Regions from separate parts of the Homo sapiens genome. Here regions 1, 2, 4, 5 and 6 are each linked to region 3. The links are contacts of gene promoters, found by promoter capture Hi-C in blood cells and fetal thymus (Javierre and others, 2016). All regions are on one chromosome and are shown on one strand. Each heading gives the region's core, a stretch centred on a gene start or on the middle of the fragment in contact. The rest is flanking DNA. Distances are from core to core; before and after follow the strand shown.

What was found. Contacts are between HindIII fragments. The CHiCAGO score rates a contact against its expected background, and 5 or more counts as called.
Region 1: a contact is called between a fragment that was not itself captured here and the fragment with the promoter of HELB in region 3, in 1 of 17 cell types (non-activated CD4 T cells). The highest score is 5.7, in non-activated CD4 T cells.
Region 2: the fragment with the promoter of TBK1 here is called in contact with the fragment with the promoter of HELB in region 3 in 3 of 17 cell types (total CD4 T cells, total CD8 T cells and activated CD4 T cells); the score reaches 8.3 in total CD4 T cells.
Region 4: a contact is called between a fragment that was not itself captured here and the fragment with the promoter of HELB in region 3, in 1 of 17 cell types (activated CD4 T cells). The highest score is 5.6, in activated CD4 T cells.
Region 5: a contact is called between a fragment that was not itself captured here and the fragment with the promoter of HELB in region 3, in 1 of 17 cell types (neutrophils). The highest score is 6.4, in neutrophils.
Region 6: the fragment with the promoter of GNS here is called in contact with the fragment with the promoter of HELB in region 3 in 3 of 17 cell types (activated CD4 T cells, total B cells and non-activated CD4 T cells); the score reaches 5.9 in activated CD4 T cells.

What each region holds. Positions count from the first base shown.
Region 1 is chr12:64,698,158-64,702,901 of GRCh38, reverse strand. No RefSeq gene overlaps it. Among named protein-coding and RNA genes, the nearest start is that of GNS, 59 kb to the left of the region's middle. The HindIII fragment of the contact is 6,460 bases long and covers 1-4,744 here.
Region 2 is chr12:64,449,326-64,453,688 of GRCh38, reverse strand. TBK1 (TANK binding kinase 1) reads right to left here and starts at 1,569. Exons shown (of 21, transcript NM_013254.4): 1 at 1,502-1,569. XPOT (exportin for tRNA) reads right to left here. Exons shown (of 25, transcript NM_007235.6): 25 at 2,564-4,363. RefSeq lists a silencer at 1,229-1,698. The HindIII fragment of the contact is 9,573 bases long and covers 1-3,031 here.
Region 3 is chr12:66,299,908-66,304,292 of GRCh38, reverse strand. HELB (DNA helicase B) reads right to left here and starts at 1,800. Exons shown (of 13, transcript NM_001370285.1): 1 at 1,503-1,800. The coding sequence starts at 1,689. RefSeq lists enhancers at 470-779, 810-909, 1,541-1,620, 1,681-1,730. The HindIII fragment of the contact is 5,857 bases long and covers 1,246-4,385 here.
Region 4 is chr12:64,656,783-64,661,256 of GRCh38, reverse strand. The region is part of intron 1 of RASSF3 (Ras association domain family member 3); the gene reads right to left. Among named protein-coding and RNA genes, the nearest start is that of MIR548Z, 36 kb to the right of the region's middle. The HindIII fragment of the contact is 4,513 bases long and covers 470-4,474 here.
Region 5 is chr12:64,569,661-64,574,141 of GRCh38, reverse strand. It overlaps a transcript of RASSF3 not described here. Among named protein-coding and RNA genes, the nearest start is that of RASSF3-DT, 38 kb to the left of the region's middle. The HindIII fragment of the contact is 1,063 bases long and covers 1,451-2,513 here.
Region 6 is chr12:64,757,593-64,762,341 of GRCh38, reverse strand. It overlaps GNS (glucosamine (N-acetyl)-6-sulfatase), which reads left to right and starts at 2,936. Exons shown (of 14, transcript NM_002076.4): 1 at 2,936-3,257. The coding sequence starts at 3,066. LOC124903113 (small nucleolar RNA U13) reads left to right here and starts at 1,369; the gene lies at 1,369-1,474. It also overlaps a transcript of TBC1D30 not described here. RefSeq lists an enhancer at 3,510-4,390. The HindIII fragment of the contact is 13,978 bases long and covers 1,325-4,749 here.

The DNA of each region.
Region 1 (4,744 bases), core at 1,082-3,581, 1.6 Mb after region 3:
GCTCTAGGATTTGCAGTCAGCATTTGAAAAAATAGGGGGCACTTATTAAAATGGCAGATTCTCAGGGGCCAGTACCAGAGATTCAGATTAAGTAGCTTCAGAGTCAATGAACAGAAAAATCTGCCTTTAAAAAATCAGCCTGGGCAGTGGCTTACACCTATAATCCTAGTGTCTTGAGAGGTCAAGACAGAAAGATCATGAGGCCAGGATTTCGAGACCAGCCTGGGCAACATAGCCAGACCTCATCTCTACAAAAAAATTAAAAAATTTGCTGGGCATGGTGGCATGCCCCTCTAGTCCCAGCTACTTGGGAGGCTGAGGTGGGATGATTGCTTGAGCCTAGAAACTAGAGGCTTCAGTGAGCTATGATCATGCTACTGTGTAACAGAGCAAGACCTACCTCGAAAAAACAAAATTCAGCACCTTCCACAGTTCCGAAGGCAGTCTGTGAAGAAATAGTGTGGTAACCTCATTTTGTCTTGAAATATCTTCCGAAAGATCCTAAACGTTGCCTTTTCCTAACTACCACCTTCATAACAAATAACTTTCCATGATAAAGGGGACATTATTTCTGGCCTCCCCAACACCACTACACCCTTAAAGCCCACTTCCTTCCCCAGCACACACAAACTCCTATACAAACTGTATCTAGATAAAGGCGATAGAACTGGAAGTTTTCTGATGGCTGGGCACAGTGGCTCACCTCTGTAATCGCAGCACTTTGGGAGGCCGAGGCGGGTGGATCACCTGAAGTTAGCAGTTCAAGACCAGCCTGGCCAACATGGTGAAACCCTGTCTCTACTAAAAATACAAAAATTAGCTGGGCGTGGTGGTGGGTGCCTGTAATCCCAGCTACTTGGGAGGTTGAGTCAGGAGAATCGCTTGAACTTGGGAGGCGCAGGCTGCAGTGAGCCAAGACCGAGCCACTGCACTCCAGCCTGGGCGCAAGAGTGAGACTCTGTCTCAGAAAAAAAAAAAAAAAGAACTGGAAGTTTTCTGAAAGCTGGTCTTTTTGTTCCTCAGTTTCTATGGTTGGCCTTACCTGCTCAGTCAAGCATCTTTTATTAATAAGGCCTCGAAATACTCAATCTGACCTAAACAAAATTGACTATGAATGTTTTCCTTGCAAAGATCACATATGCAAGAAAAATGTTTGAAATGTTCACCATCTTTAAAAGAATCTGAAGACACCATTTATAGTTCTGAGTAAAAGGTTTGAATTTAAGCTGTTGCCTCCCTGCCTGCAACAGCAGTAATTCAAGAATTCTAAGTTTTGGCAAGGCACTAAAGTTTGCTGCTTCAGAATTTTTAGAATTTAAACAAATTTTATTGCACCTGTAAATGGAAAAACCCTGTAGAGCAGAGCCTCCCTAGAAAGCCACTTCAGAGACAGGAACCACAGAGGGCTTAATGAATCCCACGTGTCCACAAAGCGTGGCTCAACAGCCGGCAGTACATATGCCAGCAAACACAAACCAGATAGATGCCCTTAATGACCCAGGCCCATTGTAATCGGAACTCCTCGTTTAGAAAGAGAAAAAAATGAACTCTCCTGATTGAAATAACTCCCTCCCCAAAACAAAGTCAAATCCCAATTTCTTTTGAGGTTTACAAAGAGCCCTGATGTTTTGTTGTTTGTGCGTAAATAATACTTAAAGGTGCTCACATTTCTCAGAAACAAGAAGAAGAGAGGAGCTTTCAGAGTTCACTTGATGCCAAATGCAGCCTCAGCCAGACACGTGAGAACCACAATCATCCTTTGGAAACACTATTTAAGATCAAAGGGGTCTATCCTGTACCCTGCTATTCTCATCTCCTGGAATAGGGAAAGACTTGTCAAAAAACAAAACAAAATGAAACCAAAACCAACAGGCAAAAAAACCCCAAAAGACAAAAAACAAAAACCCAAACCCAGATCCAAGCCTGAAGATGGAATAAATGATTTAGCTTCAGAGTTGTTGGTATATAACCCAGCTAGTCCCCACTCCCTCCTATTCCAGCCTTCACCACACCTGCCCCCCCACCTTTATCCTTATATAAAACTTCTTTCTTGAACATTCAATTAAGCAAGTAGTGATTCACACCACACAAGCATATGCTTTAGACTTTGAATACTTACCTCCTAGTTTCTCTCTGCAGAGGATGAGCCTTGTTTGGGGGAATGGTTCCATGAGTCAAACCTTTGCACAAGTTTTGTGGCTCCTATAGCACTCTGTAGTACTGAAGCTGTTCTTCTGGTGGTTCCAGGAGAATTGTCTTACCAACTACAGTGAGACCACTAAGTTTGGTTACCTGCCGTGTTATTTCCCCCATGCAACAGAACCTCTAAATGAAAATACAGGTCTGGGCTGGGCATGGTGGTTGTAATCCCAGCCCTTTAGGAGGCCAAAGCAGGAGGATCACTTAAGCCCAGGAGTTTGAGACCAGCGTGGGTAATATAGCCTGACTCCATCTTTACAAAAATGAAAAAAAATTAGCTGGATGTGGTGGCAGGCACCTGTTGTCCCAGCTACTTGAGAGGCTGAGATGGGAGGATCTCTTAAGCCCAGGAGGTTAAGGCTGCAGTGAGCCGTAATCACGCCACTACATTCCAGCCTGGATGACAAGGTGAAACCCCATCCGAAAAAATAAAAAGAAAGCACAGGTCAGCATTTCATTCTATGTGACTTAGTATAATCACCTGAATGAAATGATAAATGAACCAAAATGGATGAGAACACACTGATATCAACAAACCCCAATGGCACCAAAACAGTTACGCTTCTGGGCAAACTGTCCATTACGGCAATTTAACAGACTTTTGCTCCTTTACTCAATAGGCAATTTAACTGAGAAACTAGAGAGCACTTACAGGAAAAGATGGTAGAGAAACGGGGCAGTGTCCGGCTCTGCCACTCACTCACACAGTGGCCTTGAGCAAGCTGCTAAACCTCAACATGTCCATTTCCACATTTGTGAAAAAAGGGATATGACGAAATAGTGTGATAACGTCACAGGAGAGTCAATGAGTTGATACATATTAAGCATTTCAGAAGAATGCCTAGCACATGGTAAGCACTTTGTTGGCATTGGCTACTATAGTGTAGACCTTCACCACCACCCTTTTTTTTTTTTTTTTTTTTTTTGAGATAGAGTCTTGCTCTGTTGCCCAGGCTGGAGTACAGTGGCGCAATCATGGCTCACTGCAGTACTCACGGCTCACTGGAGTACAGTGGCGCAATCACGGGGCTTGAACCCCGCCTCCCGGGTTCAAGCAATTCTCCTGCCTCAGCCTCTTGAGTAGCTGAGACAGCAGTCGTGTGCCACCACGCCTGGCTAATTTTTATATTTTTAGCAGAGAAGAGGTTTTGCCATGTTGGCCAACCTGGTCTTGAACTCCTGGCCTCAAGAGATCAGCCCGCCTTGGCCTCCCAGAGTGCTGGGATTACAGGCATGAGCCACTGTGCCTGGCCCCTTTTCTTTTTTTTTTTTTTTGAGACGGAGTTTCACTTTGTCGCCCAGGCTAAGTGCAATGGGGCGATCTCGGCTCACTGCAACCTCCGCCTCCCTGGCTCAAGCAATTCTCCTGCCTCAGCCTCCTGAGTAGCTGGGATTACAGGTGTGCGCCACCACGCCCAGCTAATTTTTGTATTTTTAGTAGAAACGGGGTTTCACCATGTTTGGTCAGGCTGGTCTCAAACTCCTGACCTCATGATCTGCCCACCTCGGCCTCCCAAAATGCTGGGATTACAGGCATGAGCCACCGCGCCCAGCCCCCTTCTTTCAATAAAACAAAATACCTAATTAGCGTTATCTGACAGTGTCTCCGAATTTGTCACCAACTGATAACTGTTGTTTCAATAAATATTCATGTGAGCCAGGCACGGTGGCTCACACCTGTAATCCCAGCACTCTGGGAGGCCAAGGCCGGCAGATTACCTGAGGTCAGGAGTTTGAGACCACCTTGGCCAACAGGGTGAAACCCCGTCTTTACTAAAAATACAAAAATTAGCCAGGTGTGGTGGCACACGCCTGTAATCCCATCTACTCCAGAGGCTGAGGCAGGACAATTGCTTGAACCTAGGAGGTAGAGGTTGCAGTGAGCCCAGATCGTGCCACTGCACTCCAGCCTGGGAGACAGAGTGAAACTCTATCTCAAAAAAAAAGGTTTTTTTTTAGTAATAAAAATTGACTTAAAAAAAAAAGTCCTACCTGTAATCCCAGCACTTTGGGAGGCTGAGGTGTGTTGGTCACTTGAGGTCAGGAGTTTGAGACCAGCCTAGCCAACGTGGAGAAACCCCGTCGCTACTAAAAATACAAAAAAAAAAATTAGTCGGGTATGGTGGCAGGCACCTGTAATCCCAGCTACTAGGGAGGCTGAGGCAGGAGAATCGCTTGAACCTGGGAGGTGGAGGTTACAGTGAGCCAAGATCATGCCACTGCACTCTAGCCTGGGTGGCACATTGAGACTCCATCTCCAAAAAAAATAAAGGATAAAAATATAAAAATTCCCAAACATTCTCCACGCACCTTGGGTAGTAACCCAAGTAGAACCCCCAAACCTGATTCCTCTGAATATTTCAGTAGAAAAGCAAAATTATACAGAGCCATAATTTTCTATCACAGTATTTTTATTTAGGGAGCAGCTATGGTACGTGAAAGGCCTCTACCACCTGGTGCCAGCCTTGCTCCTTTCATCAGCCCCTCCAGGGGGCAGTGTAGTAGTAAAAACACTCCCAACAGCAGGCATGGAAGCTGAAACCAT
Region 2 (4,363 bases), core at 320-2,819, 1.9 Mb after region 3:
TCCCTCCACAGTAAGTTAAAGCAAAAAGTAGTATGCTAGACTAGGTATTCTGTGATGAATTAATGACCACCAATATCCCCAAGCTGGGTTAGGAAAATGCAGAATGGTCAGGGGTCTCAATTTTACCAATCACTGATATAGTAGGATATTTTTATATAATTTTACTACCCATCTAATTTAGATAAACTTTATATACGACTATAGGAAATAAGCAATAAAAATAAGATTCCCTTTTCACAAATAAGGAATACACATTTGCCAGTCATTACATTTCACTCACGATACAATAACAAACGTCTCAACTATCTAACGAAAAACCTTCCCTAATCAATGTAACTGTAAATGGCAAATAGTACCATTAGGTACCTATATGTATGTACCTTCAGGATAATAAGAAAAATATTTATCAGCTAAGATATCTGTTCTCTATGCAAATACAAAACTATGGTTTCTATTTAACAGTAATCACAATAGTGGTCAGGGGAAATGTCTTTTGAAATTATCTTCCAATAACTCCACAATAACATGTTAAAACATGACTCAGCACACCCACAACGTGCTTGCCATATAAATCTTCCCAAATTTTTGACAAGCATATAAGCAGACACTCAACAACTATGTTGCTGATGATGCCGTCTTCAGCCTACTTCCTTACACCGTCCAAAACGAAAGTTACTATTTGTTGAGGGATGAAAACAGGTTTGACGACATGGCCTATGGACAAAGTTCCAGGATTTCTAAACTCTGCCCCTATGTGATTCATACACTGGGGTTTCAGAGTGGAAAAGACCAGTCTTTGGTTATACATTTGGCAATTACTTGGGAGTTGTTTTGAGGCCACCTACTAAGAATACTTGGGATAGAGATTACAAATTAAACCCATAAGCCAGGTAGACGAGGAGCAAGGAAATGTCTGGGAATTCGTATTTCATCGGCATATATTTAAAACATCTTATGCTTCTAATTTCCGGTGTGAGTCAACCTCTGCGGACTGAACATCACTAAAACTCTAAGGAAACGTCTCTTTTTAATCCTCTGAAAAATCAATACATTTAAAAACTGCCCGTTGTGTCGACGCTCGGAAAGAGGGTAGAAAACAGCGAGTCTAAGGGAAAGAGGTGCCCCTGCCTCCCCAGGCAGCCAGGGCCCAGGCCCGGTAACGGAGTCGTCCTCTTTATGCCCAAAGCCGCCGGACGGGATGCAGGTCGAGGACCGGCCGCGCGGCGCGGAGCGGGGATGCAGGTAACAGGGCCCGCGCGACCATTCCACCGGCTACGGCCACCCGACACACACCCCAGAGGCAGTGTCCACGCAGCCGGGGTCCTGGATGGCTTGGCCTCGGGTCGTCCGGGGCTTCTCGGTGCGCCCGCCCCCGCCCCCGCTCTGACTCAGCATCCCAGCCTCCCACAGGGGGCGGGAGCGCTCCCCGCCGGGCGGCGCAGGCCTGACCGACCGCGCCCCGCGCCGCCTTGGCCCCTCAGCCCGCGGCCGTCTCACTTACCCAGCCGGGTCTCCGCCGCGCCACCGCCGGCGGGCTCCCGCGGCCTCCTCGAGACTCAGGACACTTCCGGCTTCGCAAGCCCTGGCCGGAGGCCACGTGACCGACGGCCGGCGCGCCGGTGCGGGTGCGCGTGCGCACGCCTATGGCCCGTCTGGTAGTCACCACAGCCGCGGCGGCAACTGCCGAGTCGGCTTCCGCGGCCACGGTAATGAGGGGGATGTCTGGAGACACCCCGTCCACTGTTGCCCTCGCCCTTTACTCTAAAGGGGAATGAGGAGCCCTGAGCAGCGAACACAGTAATTGGGATTCCCGCAACTGCAAATCCCGCCCCTTCCCCGAGCGCTGGCCGACAGTAGGGCGGACCGACGCTGAGCAAGGGATTACATCCCAAGATTTACAGGTGTGCAGAACGTGGGACACGTGGGGGGCAGGCACAGACGGCCGGCAGAGCTGGGAGGGATGGATTCTATGTTTTAAGGGCCCACTTTGGCTGCAGTGGAGCCAGATTATCGTCTCGCAGTAATTCAGACTTTACATTGTTTTTTTCATTTTCCCATCACCCAGAAATACATTAAATTCTTAATGTAAAAATGTTCATTTAATTCCCTCTCGGTATTTTGGAAAACGGCCGTATTGGAGTATCTAACTCTAAACTTAAGAATTTAAGAACTAAAACTTAAATACTAAAATTAGGTCCTGCAATATTCGTGCAGTCAAAATCTCAAGCCGCTATTCCCAATAAGGAATAGCTTTCTGAAGGGGTCCCTTCTGCCCACGGACAGCACAACAGGCCTTTCTCAACATGAGGGAGCAGAGACCGCTGCTAATCTAGGGCTAAATTTCTGAGTGGAGGGGAAGAGGAAGATGGTGTTTCCCAGAGTAGCAGCAGCAAACACGAATGAATGGGAAGTCATGCGGAGTGGCTCAGAGGCTTTTGAATGTAACAGACCTAGGGTTGCTGTCTCGGCTGCCAATTACTGACTTAAAAGCTAATCTCTTACCTCTCTAAGCCTCAGTTTTATCAAATGCACAATGGAGATAACAAAAGTCCACTCTAATGAATTCTTACAAAGCAAGTTACTTTATTAGCATTTTAAACAATGTATAAGTGATGGAATCATTCTAACAACACATCTATTCACTGCTTACAATTCCAACTAATTTCAGTTCTTTGATATCTAATGACAAGAGCGAAGACCTGTTAAAGTTCCTTCCACCAGTAAAACTCACAGCTCAAAGTTGTGGGAGTGATTAACTGAGCCACAGGCCTTCATTCACATGTTTACCACATTAAAATACCACACAGTGTTTTCTTATAAGGTCAACCAACTGGGAAGCAATTAACATTAGCATTAAGATTTAAACTGTTAGGCACAGGGCTAAATCAGGCATTATATGAAAACTTGTGGTTCCCTAGTCAAGTCAAACAAATCCCCAAATATTTCAGCTTGTAACAGTTTTGTCCTTCCTCTCTTGAGACAATTATTTGAGTACTTGCTTTTGGAAATAAGGTAATTCATGATGGAAGCTTCCTAGCTGTGATGGTGCTCTAGGCAACTTCAGAGAATGAAGATAGAAGTTATGCATGATTATATAACATGAAGAGTTTAATTTTTATTACACACTCAATTTCCATGCCCTGATTTCTCTTAGCTCTATAAACACATGTAAATCTTCTGCAGAGCTTTAAAGAGCTCTGAAAGGGAAAACACCTTTCCATATATGGAATTGATAGCATAGTAAGGCCGTGTGCAGTGGCTTATACCTGTAATCCCAACATTGTGAGGCCAGTGGGAGGATTGCTTGAGGCCGGGAGTTTGAGACCAGACTGGGTAACATAGTGAGACCCTGTCTCTACCAAAAAAAAATGTAGCTGGGTGTGGTGGTGCACACCTGTAATCACAGCTAGTCTGGATGCTGAGGCAGGAGGATTGGTAGAGTATGGGAGAAGTTACAGTGAGCTATGATGTCACCACTGCACTCCAGCCTGGGTGATAGACTGATCTCTATTCAAAAAAAAAAAAGAAAAAAAAAGTATAGTGATACACTATTAATTCCATATATGCTAATATGAGATAGCATCCATATAAACTACTATCAAGTCTTTATGTGCCAGCTACTGTAATAAGTCTTTTCAAGTTTAACTCATTGAATTCGTAATGAGGTTTGAGGTAGCTACCATTATTTCCATTTTACAAATAGGGAAACTGAGGCTGGGAGACATTCTTTAACTTGCCCAAGGTTCTAAAACCAGTTACTGGCAGAACTGGTATTTGAACCTACTTAATCTGATTCTAGAGCCTGTGCTATATAAACTCTTACCCACTATGCTATGCTATTCATTAGTATCCATTTAACAATTACTACTATTGCAATAGCTGCAATTATCACTCCTATAGTACAGGGGAACCTATCAAAGAAACACTCAGCTTTCACTTATCTATTTCTGAAAACATTTTTTATTAAAGTATAAGGTACATTTCACTGATTTATTTTTATAACTGTCAATTTAGTTAAGTATTTTTATTATATGGTGTAAGAAAAATGTTTGAAATGTCTTCTGGAATTAACCGGAACAAAATAAATGTACAAAATTTAGAATAGAATTTTACAGAGTTTATAAGCCACTGAAGCCCATTCATGAAACCCATTCATGAGGCCAAAGGGCAAAACAAACCCTCCCTGAACATCTCAATTGGGCTTTTAGAATTTAAACGTAAATGTCTATACGAATTCTGCTGCTCAGTTTTGTCCCTCCTCTCTTCTTTCCAGTGACACTACTGATAACTATTATTTTTTCCTTTTGCTTTCTCAAGTAGCCATGAATAAAAATGGAGGAAGGCAGGGGTAAGTACTTCTAAT
Region 3 (4,385 bases), core at 551-3,050:
TACTTAGAAAAGTCTTCCCTGAATCTCATGTATAAAACCTCTCAAAGCACTATTTAGCATTCCTTCTAAGCATTTAGTAACATTATAGTTACTTCTGTGATTAAAGAATGTTTGTTTAATACACTAGAGGGTAAGCTTCATTAAGACTGCAACCTTGTTATTTTATTTCTCTAGGTTTTCCCAGCACCAAACATGCTAGCCAGTTGATGATACTTTAGAATGACGACTAAGCCCTCCACAAATACTTGAAACTTTTCTGCCTAAATCTGCGCTGTCCACCCACGTGGCTATTTAAATTAAAATGTAATAAAACTTAAAATTTCTCTCCTCAGTTACACTAGCTGGATTTCAAGTTCTAAACAGCTACATATGGCTAGTGGCTATTATACCAGACAGTGCAGATATAAAACACTGCCATGATCATGGAAAGTTCTACTGAACAGCACCGGTCGGCACATTAAAATATTTTAAGTCTCAGTCACAAAGTATACATAACAGGTATAACTTATAGCACAGGAAACTACCTCATAGCACAGGAAACTACTTATACAAGGTTTACCCGAACCACAAGGTTACTAACACCAATTAACAATCATCTGTGCACTGAGGTGTTCCTTGTGTTTCGTTTTTCTTTTTCTTTTCTTTCCTTTTCGTTTTTTGAGATGGAGTTTCATTCTTGTTGCCCAGGCCGGAGTGCAATGGTGTGATCTCAGCTCACTGCAACCCCCACCTCCTGGGTTCAAGCAATTCTCCTGCCTCGGCCTCCCAAGTAGCTAGGATTACAGGTGTGCGACATCACGCCCGGCTAATTTTGTAGTTTTGTTGTTGTTGTTGTTGTTTTACTAGAGACAGGTTTCACCATGTTGGTCAGGCTGGTCTCGAACTCCTGACCTCAAGTGATCCACCTGCCTCGGCCTCCCAAAGTGCGTGAGCCACCGCGCCCGGACTGTTTTGTTTTTCCAAGAAGCTGAGGAAGAACCACGTATTTGACTCCAGGCAATATAGGATAATAATTACAAGTTCTCATTCTATAGAACTTGAGGATAAGTGGTCAGAAGGAAAAATAAAAGTTCCGATTCTGGGTGGAAATAGAGACTCAACATCCACTGTTTCCTTAAGCGTAAAACTACCTTACATTAAAGGTACATTAAATTAAAGGACGACCATTAAAATGAGAATAATTTTAAAAAAAAAAAAAAAAAAAAAGGGCAACCCGCTCGGGTCCCCTTCCACACTGTAGAAGCTTTGTTCTTTCGCTCTTTGCAATAAATCTTGCTGCTGCTCAAAAAAAGAAAAAAAAAAAAAAACCACATAGTATGTGTCCAGTTAAAGTCACTGCTATTATTATAGTCATAATTTTACCCTTGGTAGGATGAAGCAGCTAGACCACTGATAAGCTAAATCTGTTAGCACGACTGGGTGCCTTGCTCAGGGCAAAGCCAGAATGGGAAGCGCTACTTTGGACCCTCCAACCCCATCCCCCGGGCAGACGCCTTCCTCACCGCGGAGGCACCCGGGGAGGCTGCCAGCCTTTACGCCCCCACTGCAGAGCTCCTCGGCGTCGATGAACACGGACTCTTCATCCTCCTCCACGTCGTCGTTTAGGTAGTCGTCGTCCTCCTCCACCAGATCCCTGGGTGGGAGCAGAGGTCCCTGAAGTTGGCGCAGGTACGGACTCGACCTGGCCATGCTTCTCCTGAACTCAACCCAAACAACTCGGGAAAACCCTGGCTAACTGCATGGTCATGATCAGCCAATCAGTTCTACGACTGTAAGGCCATCAACTTCCGGGAACGGCCTGGCGGCCGCCAGCGTACATAAAACCTGAAAGGCAGCGAAGCTCCGCCCCAAGTTTCCAGGAATTGCCGAGGGGAGGGCATGTGGAAGGGGCGGGGCAAGGCGGGTTAGGGGCGGGGAAGGGAGAGCGAGGGGCTGGGAGATGGGCGGGGCTTCCGCTCCTTTTGGAGCCTGGTGCTGGGCGGTGATTATCAGGAAGGTGCTGGGACGAAATCAGCGCTGGGGAGTGACAGGCGTGGCACCTGCAGAACCGCCAGTGCACGGCATCTCCTGCGGAGAGAGAACGGGGAGAAAGTCCACTTCTGCTGAGCTTGAAGAACCTGGAAAAGCAACCCCCACCCCAACCTTCCCAAAACGAAAGTATAGCAGATGCCCTTCTGGAATCGGATCTAGGGCAGGGACCTAGAATTCTGTCTTTTTAATGTACATTCCGGGCTGTCCATTTTGATGCTCAGCTAGGTTTGGACACCACTGGATTAGATAACATTCAAAGTTATTTTTATCCTTTCCTCTGTGAGTACACCCTGGTCTCCCAAACTTATTTAAGCTGGGCTGCTACCTGCTGACAGTGGGGCAAAAGTGTCTCTTTGCAGCCCAGAGTATAGACAGGAATAGGAGAAGGGAAATAGAAGAGAAAGGAACGTGGTTTTAAAAACTATTATGGGGCTATGATTCTCTTACTTGATGAGGATGGTACTTGAAAGTCTTGGTACTATTTAAGAAATACCATAAATATATTACTACATTACTGTATTGATACTGTTTATTTTGGGATTATTCCTGAAATAACTAAACACACACTATTTACTAAATCCAAAAGCACCTGATGCTATATTTAAATATATATAAACGACAACTAGCACCAAATATTTAAGAAAAATGTATAGGAGAAAATATAAAAATTGATTTCTTTTCCTTTGGGTACCAATTGAAAAATGCCCACTTTTGTTGCTTTTAAAAGAAATACTGTTGCAGCTGACAAAACACCAGTGTTTCCAAGGATTGGCTATATGAGGTTGAATTCCTTTGACATTCACATGGCTACTGTTTCCACCACAACATTGAATCTCCTCTGACAAATGTCACACTTACTGTCCTCTTCGTTTCAAAAACCAGTGGATACTTTTCAGCCTTTGTTTTACCTGACCTCTCAGCAGTATTTGATACTGATAAGTATTTTCTTCTTGTAGCATTCTGCTGCCGGGGCTTTTGCAGCTTGCCTTCTCAGATTTTTCTCCTTTCTGGCTATTTACAGTCTTGGACCCCTCTGCTTGCCTGTAAGTACTGTTATTCCCCAAGGCTCCATCCCAAGCATCTTCTTGCTCTATAATCCTTTCCTCAATCATCCTTCACCTACATGCTAATGACTCAGCCTAATCTGATCTCCAAACCATACAAACAACTGCCTAAACACTGTCAGTCACTACTGGATGCCCCTTGGCTACTTAAGACTCAGCATATCTAAACTGCAACTTATCATTGGCTTCCCAAATCTGGGTCACTTATGAGTATATACATGGGATATTCTTGTTACCAACATGATGACTTGGGCACAAGAATCAACTCTAGATCTCTAGATGTTAAACTTTTTTTTCTTTCTCTCTTTTTTTTTGGGGGGTGGGGGGACAAGGTCTCATTGTGTTGCTCAAGCTGGTCTTGAACTCCTAAAGTCAAGTGATCCTCCTGCCTCAGTCTACCAAGGTGCTAGGATTACAGATGTGAGCCACTACACAGCACAGGTGTTCAACTCCTCCTCCCTTTTTTTTTTTTTTTTTTTTGGTACAGGTCTATAGTGGCACCATCTCAGCTCACTGAGGCCTTGACCTCCCAGCAGGCTCAAGTGATCGTCCCATATCAGCCTCTCAAGTAGCTGGGACCACAGGCTCACACCACTAAGCCCGGCTAATTTTTTGCAATTTTTTGTAGAAACAGGGTTTCGCCATGGTGTCCAGACTGGTGTCGAACTCCTGAACTCAAGTAATCTGCCGGCCTCGGCCTCCCAAAGTGCTGGGATTACAGGCGTGAGCCATTGCACCTGGTCACTATATGTTCAGCTTCTATTCATATAGTTCAATTGCATTTTATTGGATAGTGTAGATAGGAATTTAGGATGATAAGAATCTTACTTCTTTACCTATTGTTTTCTCATTCTTTTAAAAAAAAAGTTAACAATTCTGGCTTTCTGGATACCATCTTTACCATACATAGTAAGCAGTGGTACTCAAATCTGGCTGTGCATCAAAATCACTTGGGATGTGTTCTAAAATTGAGATACCTGGATCTACCCTGAAGCTACACTTCCCAAAACAAAAAACAACATAGACATAGGTTATCTACTGTGTGATTTTTGTAATAGCAAATTATTGGAAATAGCAGAGATGTTGAACAGCAAGAGACTAATGAAATAAACTGTAGTACATCCACACAATGGAGTATTCTTCAGCTATTTTTTTTATAAAAAGAAAGAAAGATTGCCACAAATTGGTAGGGAGTAGTTTCCAAGATACTGTTTTAAATTAGAGAAAGCAAGATGTAAAACAATGCATATCATTTTATTTGTATGTGTCAGTGTTACGAAAAAAAAAAAA
Region 4 (4,474 bases), core at 1,477-3,976, 1.6 Mb after region 3:
GGGATTACAGGCATCAGCCACCATGCCCAGCCCAAGAACCTGCTATGTACCAGGTAAATCAGATCATTGTATCTAAGCATTGTTATTACCACTTACATACGAGCAAGCCGAGTTTAACTTACTCACGGCTACGGCTACCATTTGAGTGAGGCCAGGATCTGAACCCAATGCCTCCAGCACTAGGGCTCTTTCCTTCCACAAAACACCTTCTGACATGTCAAGCCTCAACTTGGAAACAAACCCTGAGAGCACACGTTCACAAGAAAGGGGTGTTCTATTATATTAACATGAACCACTGAGCTCAAGTCTCACAGATTCGGAGGAAAGCTCGTGTGCTCCAGTGGGAAGATGGGAAGTTGATGGGGAGAGAGGGCCATGTGACTCCCCGCCAAATCCTCCAAATTCAAGGGATCACAAGAGGAGGCAGGAAAGGACTACTAAGCACGAGACAAGTCAGCAGAACAAAGCTTGCTTCTGACTCAAAGCAAAACCAACAGTCATCCTGAAAGAAATTTTTTTTCAAAAGCTCCTCCATTTTTTCCAATTTCCAAGTCTTCTGCATTGAGTATACATTATTTTAGCCACTGGGAAAAAATACGTTAAAAAGAAATGTCCCTGCTTTTACAGAGAAAAAGCAAATGATAGTCACTACCTTTTTTTAAAGAAAGATTTTGTGACCTTCTCCTTAAAGGCCAAGAAATTAGAATTATGTCAAAGTATTAATCTTCCTTATGAAACACAAAGTTGTATTTGTCCCTCATAGCACCAAGCCAGGTGCAAGCAGCAGCTTTCTCATAAATACTGGGCAATACAGACTTCTCAGTGTACACACCCTTACATACAATGAGACAGCTCTTTAAAGGTGCCTTTAGAGTGCCTAGTATAGTGGCTCCTGAATGTAAATGGTTAATGATGATGGAATTGTGAGAAAGTAAAAAGAAATACCACTTTCAGTACCATTATTATCTACTTTTTCTCTTCTTGAAAAAACAAAGAATTTGTTTCCAGCAACATTAGGTTAATAATTATTAGCATTTCAGGATGGGCACAGTAGCTCACACTTGTAATCCTAGCACTTTTTGAGGCAGAGGCGGGCGGATCACTTGAGCCCATGAGTTTGAGATCAGCCTGGGCAACATAGTGCGTGCCATATGTGTGCGTGTATGTGTATATATATATACATACACACACACATATATATATACATACACACACATATATATACACATACACACACACACATATATATACACGCACACATATACACATACATACACACACACACACACACACACACACACACACGTATTAGATGAAGTCTCGCTTTGTCACCCAGGCTGGAGTGTAGTGGCGCCATCTCAGCTCACTGCAACCTCCGCTTCCCAGGTTCGAGTGATTCTCCTGCCTCAGCCTCCCGACTAGCTGGGATTACAGGCATGCACCACCACATCCAGCTAATTTTTGTATTATTAGTAGAGATGGGGTTTCACCATGTTGGCCAGGATGGTCTCAAACTCCTGATCTCAAGAGATCTGCCCACCTCAGCCTCCCAAAGTGCTGGGATTACAGGCATGAGCCACCATGCCCAGCAATATTATTATTATTAGCATTTGATTTTTCTACATTTCCTTTCAAATTATGCTATATTCTATTAATAGACTGTTGCAAACCTCTCCCTCCCCTCCCTCAGCAATAGGAAAACAAAGACTCTGATTTATTGTAAAATTCACAGACAACCCTTGAACCAAAATAAAGCAGTCCACAAAAATGGACCCCTCTGTATCCTAAAGCCAACTTTTTGGAGTATGCTCAGACCGCCTCGGAATTCACCACCAGGGCTAGGAACCCTGTTCTTCCATGTTTGTCGGTTTGCTCTGACCTTGTCATTAGTAAGAGAATGAGGACAGTACAGGTTCCATTTAGGAGAAGAATAATCTTATCAGGAAATTACTTTATATCTCAAACTGTGCTAAAAATATCACATCCTTATCCCCACACTTCACCTCTGACTCCACCTCTCTCTCACCTCCTCCCACCAAGTAAAGAATTTATTTAACAGATGAAGGCTGCCTCTGAGAATGATCTGTCTAAAAACACAGGCAGGACCATGGAATGTGTATGTTTGAAACTAGAGTCTCTGGGCTCTTGGTCACTGACCCACTGGACTTTAACATGTCTCTTCCACAATTTGTTCTTTTTTCTGTTGCTCAGGCTGGAGTGCAGTGGCACAATCATGGTTCACTGCAGCCTTAATAAACTCTTGGGCTCAAGATATCCTCCTGCCTCTGCTTCCTGAGTAGCTGGGACTACAGGTGTACATCACCACACCTGGCTAATTTTTTATTTTCTGTAGAGACAGGGGTCTCGCTATGTTGCCCAAGCTGGTCTTAAATTCCTTGAGCTCAAGTGATCCTCCTGCCTCAGCCTCCCAAAGTGTTGGGATTACAGGCGTGAGCCATCATGCCCAGCATAATTCATTCTTCTTTTTGAGATAGAGTTTCACTTTCAGTTCACTGCAACCTCCACTTCCTGGGTTCAAGCAATTCTCATGCCTCAGCCTCCCAAGTGGCTAGGGCTACAGGTGTATGCCACCATACTTGGATAATTTTGTATTTTTAGTAGAGACAGGGTTTCACTATGTTGTCCAGGCTGGTCTTGAACTCTCAGCCTCAAGCGATCCGCCCGCCTCAGCCTTCCAAAGTGCTGGGGTTACAGGCATGAGCCACTGTGCCTGCCGTAATTCCTTCTTATTAAATTTACTTTCACTAGTTTAGACAGTGCTCCATAACCATGCTTACAAAGCGCAAAAACATTGTGTTTGTATTTGAGTCTCCTCCATGGCTGGCCCATCAATTCCTTAAGGCCTTGACTATGTCTCTTAAGTTGCCTTGGGAAACCGTAGTCAGTGGAAAACCTCATGCTGATGGGCTCCTCACCAAAAGCACACAGTTCCTTTGGCACCAGGAGGATCTTCATTCCATGGAGAATTTTTAGGCTATAAACAAGTCTCATTCTTTTAGAGACACTCTAGCTTTAAAAAAAAATATGTCTGTGGGTATCAAGTCTCACCCACGTGTTGATTTTACTACTTTAAATTAGGTTTCCAGACATCTGACGGGCACTCTCCAAGTACTACCTAAATAACACCACCCACACTTCTACCACAGGGGAGCATAACGCAACCTGACAATTTATTTATTTTTTAGAGACAGGGTCTCGCTCTGTCACCCAGGCTGGAGTGCAGTGGCACAATCAACGCTCACTGCAGCCTCAACTTCCTGGGCTAAAATGATCCTCCCACCTCAGCCTGCACCACCATGTCTGGCTAATTTTTTTTGAAGTTTTGTAGAGATGAGGTCTCGCCCAGGCTGGTCTTGAACTCCTTGAGCTCAAGTGATCCTCCTGCCTCAGCCTCCCAAAGTACTGGGAAGTGCTAGGATTATAGGTGTGAACCAACACACCTGGCCCTGACAATATTTTTCAAGCAAATGTATCTTTGCCAACCTTCCTCTGGATTAAAAGTGCCTTGGGGGCACAGTTTTATCCTGCTCCTGTGCCAAGGCACTGGCATTTCTGAAACACAAGAGATGCTCCATGGGTGACTGGTGGAAGGACCAGAACGAAGGGAGCAGGCAGAGACCTGCCCTGGGCATCCTCATCATCCTCCTCACACTCAGAAGGCAGGCACAGAGGCAAGACCACTGAAAAGGGTGCCTGGCCTGGTAGACAATCCAAATACCCTGGTCCCACCCTTTCTTTTCATCAAAGTGATTTTACTACTCTTACTTTTTAAAAATTTACTTTATTGTGATTAAACACAACATAAAATTTACCATTTGAATCATTTTTCAGTATATAGTTATTTGACACTGAGTTCATTCACAATATTGTGGAACCATCACTACCATCCATCTCCAGAACTTTTTCACCTTCCCCAGCTGAAACTCTGTATCGCCCAGCGTGGTGGCTCACCCCTGTAATCCCAGCACTTTGCGGGTGGGCAGATCACTTGAGGTCAGGAGTTCGAGACCATCCTGGCCCACGTGGCGAAACCCCAACTCTACTAAAAATACAAAAATTAGCCAGACGTGGTGGCGTGGGCCTGTAGTCCCAGCTACAAGGGAGGTTGAGGCAGGAGAAAATCGCTTGAACCTGGTTGATGGAGGCTGTAGTGAGCCAAGATAGCACCATTGCACTCCAGCCTGGGCGACAGAGTAAGACTCTGTCTGAAAAAAAAAAAAAAAAGAAACTATACTATTAAACACTGACTCCCTATTTCCCTGTGACTACCATTCTACTTTGTCTCTATGAATGTGGCTACTCTAGGCACTTCATGCAATTGTAATCATACAGTATTTGTCCTTTTAGTGACTGGCTTATTTCATGTAATGTCCTCAAGATTCATCCACATTATTCCATGTCAGAATTTTTCTCTTACTTTAGACTGCTACTTTAATGACAGCCTAAAATGGTC
Region 5 (4,481 bases), core at 733-3,232, 1.7 Mb after region 3:
TAGTAGAGGCAGGCTTTCACCATGTTGGCCAGGTTGGTCTTGAACTCCTGACCTCAAGTGATCCGCCCACCTCGGCCTCCCAAACTGCTAGGATTACAGGAGTAAGCCACTGTGCCTGGCCCAAATATTTTTTTAATCTATTGAGGTGATCATATTTTTCTCCTTTGTACTATTAATATGACACATTACATAGATTGATTTTGAATTATTAAAGTAACCTTGCTGTGGTGGGCAGCCTGTGGGGTGATCTGTGATCCCTGACTCCTGCTGTTGACACCCTGTCTAATCCTTACTTTTGAGTGGGGGCTGGATCTAGTGACTTGCTTCTAATGAATAGAAAATGGCCATGGTGATATGAAAAGTCATTGCTGAGGTTAGGTTACAAAGATTTAAACTTCAATCTTTCTCAGCCCTTCCTCCAGGGAAAGCAAGCTGCCATGTTGTGAAGGCTGCTTTGGAGAGGCCCAAATAGCAAGGAACTGTCTCTGTCCAACAGCCAATGGGACCTGAGACCAATAAATACACATGACTGAGTTTGGAAGTGGATCCTTCCCTAGTCAAGCCTGGGGCATTAAATGAATTTATAAATGGAGGTAAAACATGTAGAACAATTGTGGCACCTAGTAAAAGCTTAATACAATTTAGCAACACTACCTCTGAGTTTGCCTTTTCATATTTGTTAAATGGGGATAATATGATCTATTCCATTGGATTGTTGTAAACATGAAATAAAATAATGTATTAGTAAGCACTTAATGAATAATCACTACTGTTTATCTTAACTGCCTAAACTGCTGTTTAGATGAAAAGTGTTTTTGTTTGTTTGTTTTTAAGACAGGTTCTCACTCTGTCACCCAGGCTGGAGTGCAGTGGTGTGATAACAGCTCACTGCAGCCTTGACCTCCCAGGCTCTAGTGATCCTCCCACCTCAGCCTCAACTAGGACTACAGAGGCATGACACCATGCCCAGCAACTGGGTCTCACTAAGTTGCTCAAACTGGTCTCAAGTGATCCTCCCACCTCATCCTTCCAAAGTGGTAAAATTACAGGCACGAGCCACCATACCTGGCAAGAAGAAAGCTTTTTAAAAATAGGAATTGCATTTTGGGCTGGGTACAGTGGTTCATGCTTATAATCCCAGTGCTTTGGGAGGCCGAGGCAAGAGGATCACTTGAGGTCAGGAGTTTGAGACCAGCCTAGGTGACAGAAGGAAACACTGTCCCTTGAAAAAATTTTAAAAAGAAATTGCATTTTATCGACCTTTGAATTCTCTAACATAACAAAAATAGATGTTCAATTAATGGTTTGGAATTGACACATTCAATCTGTCTTTATATATGTGAAACAAAAAAACAAGCTTCATAGACTTGGACAAGTTGGAAATGTAACCTCTGTTTCTTCATCTATTAAGTAAAGACACTAGACTTACTTTCTGTGATTTCTTCAAGCTTCGTTCGTACATTTATTCACTCTTTCATTAATTTAGTAAATATTTATTGGGCCCTATCATATGCCGAGCTCTGTGCTTGGTGCTGGGGTTCAGTGATGTGCAGAACAGATGTGGCTTGTGTTCTCATAAAATTTACTGTCTGTATTCATCTGCTCAGGCTGCCATAACAAAATACCATACACTGATGGCTTAAACAACAGAAAGTTATTGCCTCCCAGCTCTGTAGGCTGAAAGTCCAAGATCAGGGTACCAGCATGGTCAAGTTCTGGTGAGGGCTTTCCTCCTGGCTTGCAGAAGGCTACCTTCTCACTGTGTCTTTATATGGCAGACAAAGAGGGAGACAGAGCATGCCAGTGACAGCAAGCTCTCTGGTGTCTCATCTTACAAGGGCACTAATCCTATCATGAAGGTCCCCAGCCTCATGGGCTCATCTAAATCGAATTGTCTCCCAAAGATTTCTCTCCCGAATTATCTACATTAGGTGTTAGGGTTTCAACATATAAATTTTGGGGGAACACGATTCAGCTCATAGCATAGTCTAATAAGAAGACATAAATAATCACACACACACACACACACAAGTCTACAATTACAAACTGTGATCAGTGCCATGAAGGCAAAGTTCATGAAGCCATGGGAGGAATTAACCAGGTAACTAGGTCTAATCCCAGGTAAGGAGTAGCTTATGAACGTCATAACCTATGAATTCTAGGATTGGTGGAAGGCCCTTTGTCCTCCAGCTATCAGAAAGAAGAGAATAAAGTAAGTGATTCTGGCACCAGCAGAATCCCAAAATCACTGCTTGTCCCCACTGTCTATACCAGCAAGCCTTACTTTGTGTATGCAGCAACTCATAGCTGGGCATGGCCAAGCACTTGGGAACCTGGGAAGAGAGAGGAGACACCATATGGACAGAATTTGTTCCCCATTTAAATGTATGCATTGGAACAGCACAAAAAAAAAGTGTCACGAATCTCTCTGCAGAACTTTTACGATAGGGAGATAATTGCTGGAAATTACTGTATGGTGCTGTTAACACCAGATCAGAAGAGGCTGCCAAGCTTGGCTTCCTCCCACCCCCATGGCAGCCAAAAAACACAGGTGTCTTAAAGAAAAAAAAGTACAAAGGAGAATGCTGAATGATCAGGAAGCTTATGTGTGCTGAAGCCTCAGCCCAGCCCAGCACATCTCCAGACAGATGTCACTGAACCCACTTTCTCCTTTGCTGCCAGGTCATAACAAGGCTTCCTGATTGTGCTCACTGGTGTGGGTTTGAGGATCATGTTCTCGTTTCCTGTGGCCAGGTAGCCTCATGATTCTCTGAAGTCCATGTCCTGAAAAAGCGACAGCCCCTCTTCTTTGTCTAAGGATCGCAGGGCCTGGCATCTGCAGTGTGTCATTATAATGCACCAACCTGGGCAAGCTTGGAGACAAACTATCATTCTTTTATTTTTGTTTTTATTTTTATTTTTATTTTTTTGAGATGGAGTTTTGCTCTTGTTGCCCAGGTTGGAGTGTAATGGCGCGATCTCGGCTCTCTGTAACCTCCACCTCCCAAGCAATTCTCCTGCCTCAGCCTCCCAAGTAGCTGGATTACAGGCGCCCGCGACCACACCCGGCTGATTTTTGTATTTTTAGTAGAGATGGGGTTTCACCATGTTGGCCAGGCTAGTCTTGAACTCCTGACCTCAGGTGGTCCACCCATCTCGGCCTCCCAAAGTTCTAGGATTACAGGCATGAGCCACTGCGTCTGGCCTTTAGACACTTTTTATCCAAAAATCTGGCTTGCCAGATGACTTGAGTCCCCCAAGGTTAAGAAGTGTCTCCAGTTCGTCCTCTGGAGCAGGGTAGGACACTTCACGGAGCCACGCTGAGATGACAGAACCCTCATGTTTTCAGTGCTACCCAAAAAGCTCGTGAGAAATGCTGCAACTGACATTAATCCAAAAGCAGCTTCGATTCTTTTGGGTATTGTTCATATACGATAGGAGGGATGGGGTGGGGGAAACGCAGGCAGCTAAACAGCTCTTAGAAAGACAATTTTTCCCTTTGTTTTTGGCTGCTGGATAGAAGTATATTTCAATTTTCTAGTCAGCAAGTTAAGCCAGCTGCACACACAGTGGCTTGACAAAGAAGGAGGCTAGTATGAAAAAATATTAAAATGCAAAACACATTTCAGAGGCAGCCTTCTCCTCAAATTGCGTGGTCACAGGGAGAATTCATAAATCAGAAATGAGGTCAAGTGTTGGTGTTGAGTTCAGCTCTGTTTGTCCCTTGATATTATTATTATGATGCCCAGATGAGAAATATAAAGGAGAGAAGGCCAAGCGAAAACATCTGTCCTCCTAATCCATCAGCTGCAAAACATCAGTTTTAGGACAGCACCAAAATAAGCATTCCAAGAGAAGAAATCTGTATAATCAGCATCGGCCCATTTTTTAATTAAATCAGTCATTTACAAAGACACACCCTTGGTTTGGGGTTCAGGTTTCAAAAGAAAATAGTACATCCAGAAATCTATGCTCTAAAGCTTGTGAACTTTATAGGCCAAAGTCTGAGTGAGCCAAGGTCAAATCTGAAACAGCCAAGGCGGAAGGTAGAGTGAGCCACAGTTGTTCACAAGCTTAAGGGGTGAGGAGAAGAAAGTCAAATACATTATAGGCAGACCCGATATTTTTAGTGGGCTGTTTGTCCCCTAAAGATGTTTTTGTTGTTGTTGTTGTTTTGAGACAGAGTTTCACTCTTGCTGCCCAGGCTGGAGTGCAGTGGCACGGCCTCGGCTCACTGCAATCTCCGCCTCCCCGGTTCAAGCAGTTCTCCTGCCTCAGCCTCCCAAGTAGCTGGGATTACAGGCATGCGCCACCATGCCTGGCTAATTTTGTATTTTTAGTAGAAACAAGGTTTCTTCATGTTGGTCAGGCTGATCTTGAACTCCCAATCTCAAGTGATCTGCCCGCCCCGGCCTCCCAAAGTGCTGGGATTACAGGCGTGAGCCACTGCGCCCAGCTTAAAGATGTATTTTTAAGTTGCT
Region 6 (4,749 bases), core at 1,687-4,186, 1.5 Mb after region 3:
TCTTACATTCTTTCAGTAATTTCCAATTAGCCTTACTATAAAAACCCAAGTCCTTAAAATAGGATCTGGGTCCTCACCACCTCTCTCCCTCTGCTCTAACCACACTGGCTTCTTTTAGTTATTGCAATGCACCAGCTCAGAACCTTTGCATATGCTGTACTCTGTGCTTAGGAGACATTCCACCACCCCAATACTCCATTAACAAATTATCTCCTACTCAAACTTCAGATTTCACTCAAAGATCACTTCCTCAGGGCACCTTAGACTAAATCAGCCTCCCACCACCTTAAATGCTCATTGCACCCTTTACTTTTCCTTCATAGCATGTCTATTTGTAATCATATACAAGATACAAGATTAGATTGTCCATCTCTCTGCCATTAGACTGCAAATTCCATGAACGAGGGACAATGTCTCTTCAGCACTAGTGTAGCAGTGTTACCGGAAAGGGGTCCTGATCCAGACATCAAGAAAGGGTTCTTGGATCTCGAGCAAGGAAGAATTCAGGACAAGACCATAGAGTAAAGTGAAAGAAAGTTTATTAAGAAAGTAGAGGAATAAAAGAATGGCTACTCCATAGGCAGAGCAGCCCGAGGGCTACTCGTTGCCCATTTTTATGGTTATTTCTTGATGATATGCTAAACAAGGGATGGATTATTCATGCCTCCCCTTTTTAGACCAGAGAGGGTACCTTCCTGACATTCCCATGGCGTTTGTAAACTGTCATGGCGCTGGGTGGGAATTTAGCAGTGAGGACGACCAGAGGTCACTTTCATCACCATCTTGGTTTTGGTGGGTTTTAGTCGGCTTCTTTACTGCTACCTGTTTCATCAGTAAGGTCTTTATGACATGCATCTTGTATCTTGTATCTTTATGACCTCCTATCTCATCCTGTGACTTAGAATGCATAACCATCTGGGAATGCAGCATAGCAGGCCTCAGGCTTATTTTACTCAGCCCCTTTTCAAGATGGAGTTGCTCTGGTTCAATCGCCTCTGACAGCAGCATCCTGAACAAAGTGGGCAACTAATTACACAATTTCTGGCCTCAAATAGTTTATAATCTAACCTTGAAAAAAATAGAAAAGAAACAATTTTACAATTTGGGGCTTCGATACAGATGAAATAGGTTATTTTTTTGTGCAAGAAAGTCTTCCTGGAAGTCTTGAAACCTGAATACAGAAGGATTAGTTATTCTAACCAGCTTGAAAAATTGGCCTAGGCCAAGGCTGTAACCAAGTATTCTGGTTGTCTAGGAACTGCTCTGACCACACTTCCGGCATAATTGTTTCTTGCAGAAAAACTACTTCAGTTTTTTTAAAGCTTCTTTTGCCTTCTGTAGGCTTACTTAAAAAAAAAAAGTATTAAGATCCTTTTGTGGTTCATAAGCCTGATGATTGGGTTTTCATGCTATTGTGTGAGTTACCACCCCTACCTCAAACCTTGTTAGGACTCCGCGCATTACCCCTCTGTGTGAAAAAAACAAAGTAATAAAGGTAATTTTTTTTTTTTTGCATAAGCCCTATCCTTGTACACATCAGGTTTCAACGTGTTTCCATCATTATTTTTACCTTATAGTATAGTGTTTTCACGAGTTTTTTTTTTTAATACTTTAAGTTCTGGAATAGTTTTCACGAGTTTTAAGAGACTCTTCTTGGCAAACAGTTCAACTCAGAGAAAATACTTTTACCAGCAAGGAGGTATACCTTGTTATATCGGTCTGGGGATGTGACTTGACAGTTCACCTTGCCAGGAATATCTCTGTGATTTTTTGTTTGTTTGTTTGTTTTGAGACAAGAGTCTCGCTCTGTCCCTGAGGCCAGAGTGCAGTGGCTCACTGCAAGCTCCGCCTCCCGGGTTCAAGCGATTCTCATGCCTCAGCCTCCCGAGTAGCTGGGATTACAGGCGCCTGCCACCACGCCCAGCTAATTTTTGTATTTTAGTAGAGACGGGGTTTCCCCACGTTGGCCAGGCTGGTCTAAAACTCCTGACCTCAGGTGATCCACCCGCCTCCCAAAGTGCTGGGATTACAAGCGTGAGCCACCGCGCCCACGGTGGGCGGTGAGAGGAGAGGGGCAAAGTCTAATTATTCCAGAGCGACCACAGAAATATCTGGAGCTAGTTTCAAGGGCTATTCCCCGCTAAAGATTACTTAATAATGCAGTTGGATGACCACGTTTCAAGATTTTTGTTCGATCTGCACATCCTCCAACATGTTCCAAGAGGGTGTTTAAAAAGTCACCAAGGACCATTAGGATAACCATTAGGATAAAGCTGTCAGGACATCCCTAAATTGTTTGAAACTACGATGTCTGCTGAGGAAAGAAGAACATAATTAGGCTTTGGAGTTAAGAGAGCTAACCAGTTCCGAATTTAATGTCTGAGCCAAATGAGAATGTTAAGATTTATCTCACAAGTTGTAGAGAAAATTAAAAACGATTAAACATCCGGGCCTTGAATAAGTGCCCGTCGACTTGGGGATTAAATATGGTAGAGTCCACTTTCCTCACCAGCTGATGATAATTTCTGTTATGTACAGTCCTCCTTTCTCTTCCTTTATCGGTTGGTTAGTATTTGCCAACTCTTTCCTGCTTTTCATCTTCTCTTCCCCCCATTTAAATCTTTCCACCAAGCGCTCAGAAACACGTACGTCCTACCAGAACGCAACCCGAGCCTGCGCGAGAGGTACGTACAGGTCTTGACCTTTTCCCGGTTCTCCGCCCTTTTCCCGGTTCTCCGCCCTTTTCTCCGGTTCTCCGCCCTTTTCTCCGGTTCTCCGCCCTTTTCTCCGGTTCTCCGCCCCTTTTCCGCCACTGCCTGATGCCTCCCTCCAGGCTGCGCCAGTCCGCAGCCCCGCCCACGCCGGCCGTCACGTGACCGCGCAGCGTGCTCCGCCCCCTGTCCCTGGCTCACGTGATCGCGCCTAGGGAGAAAACGTCTGACTCCAGCCACCGGCCTTCAAGGCACGGCTTTTTATTCCTTCGGCTGGTCGGCCTCTCGCCCTTCAGCTACCTGTGCGTCCCTCCGTCCCGTCCCGTCCCGGGGTCACCCCGGAGCCTGTCCGCTATGCGGCTCCTGCCTCTAGCCCCAGGTCGGCTCCGGCGGGGCAGCCCCCGCCACCTGCCCTCCTGCAGCCCAGCGCTGCTACTGCTGGTGCTGGGCGGCTGCCTGGGGGTCTTCGGGGTGGCTGCGGGAACCCGGAGGCCCAACGTGGTGCTGCTCCTCACGGACGACCAGGACGAAGTGCTCGGCGGCATGGTAACTCTTCTGTTTCTGCCCCGCCCCTCTATCTCTTGGGCTGACTACCCGGTTTGTTGCTCTCTTTCCCGGTCCCCACCACCCTCCTCCCCGAACTGGCTGTCTTATCCTTGGGTAGGTTTGGTTTTCCCACCTGAGGCCCTTTATGCCGGTGTAAGGGACTGCAATACTCTTTTCCTTTCTGGATTGAGGCACATGCGTACAGCACACAGAGCTTCTAGTCTGGACCGTACTGCTGTGGAGTTTACGTTAATATCTCAAGATAAACATGTGGAGACCAGTGGAGGATGGGTTGAACCAATGAGGATCAGGTGCTGTCTAAGAGCACTCAAGGCCTGATTGTTTTTCTTTTGGATTAGAGGATCACAGACAAGTCCAGTCCCCTTTATGAGGGACCTAGACCACCTCCACGTTTGTGCCTGTATACAATGTCTGTATCTGATGTCAATAAAAATAAGCCTGGGCCGGGCGCGGTGTGTCACTCATGTAATCCCAGCACTTTGGGAGGCCGAGGCGGGCGGATCAGAAGGTCAAGAGATCGAGACCATCCTGGCCAACATGGTGAAACCCCGTCTCTACTAGAAATACAATAATTCTAGCTGGGCGTGGTGGCGCGCAGCTGTAGTCCCAGCTACTTGGGAGGCTGAGGAAGGAGAATCGCTTGAACCCGGGAGGCAGCAGTTGCAGTGAGCCGAGATCGCGCCACTGCATTCCAGCCTGGCGACAGAGCGAGACTCCGTCTCCAAAAAAAAAAAAAAAAAAAAAAAAAAAAAAAGGCCTGAAGTGAACTAATCTGGTAGGCCGACCGTCGAACTATTGAGGGTGTGTGTTGCCTCACAAGAATCAAGAAAATTCAATTAGTGTGATTGAACACCTGACTGTTGCATTAGAGACTGTCAGTGTTTCATTTTCTATCTAATGGGTGTTGTCACAAGACTTCATTTTTTTTCCAGAGTAAATTTTGCTTGTGTATTGCAGAATTATGGAATGTGTGACCTTTGGAAACATCCACTCCAACCCCTTCCCCATGGAGGCCCAGAAAGCAACTTGCCCAAGACATGAGTAGTTGAGGCAGAGTCCTCTGACCCTGGGTTCAGCATTCCTCTCTTCGCTTTAAAACCAAATGCTTTATTGCTTTCTTCGTTTCAGTTCTCTTTTTGCTTTCAGCTGAATGCTGAGACTATGAAATACTCCAGGCAAGACGTTCCTAACTTTTCTTGTGTAGTTACACACCCTAGCTCAGTGTCCTTCAAACCTCTGGTCCCAACCCTTGAGTGAGTTATGAAATCAGTTTAGTGAGTAACTACCAACATTTTTTATTTCCTCTGGAATAGAATAGAATAGAAAAGGTCCATGTGTGTGAGTGTGTGTGTTACACTTGATAAAGGTAATCATTATCTATCTCTCTTTCTTCCCGAGTTGTAAAATATATTTCTTAGGTTGATGCTCAAGAGCTTGAGAGTCTTTTATAGCTGATGTTTTAAGAGGCTTG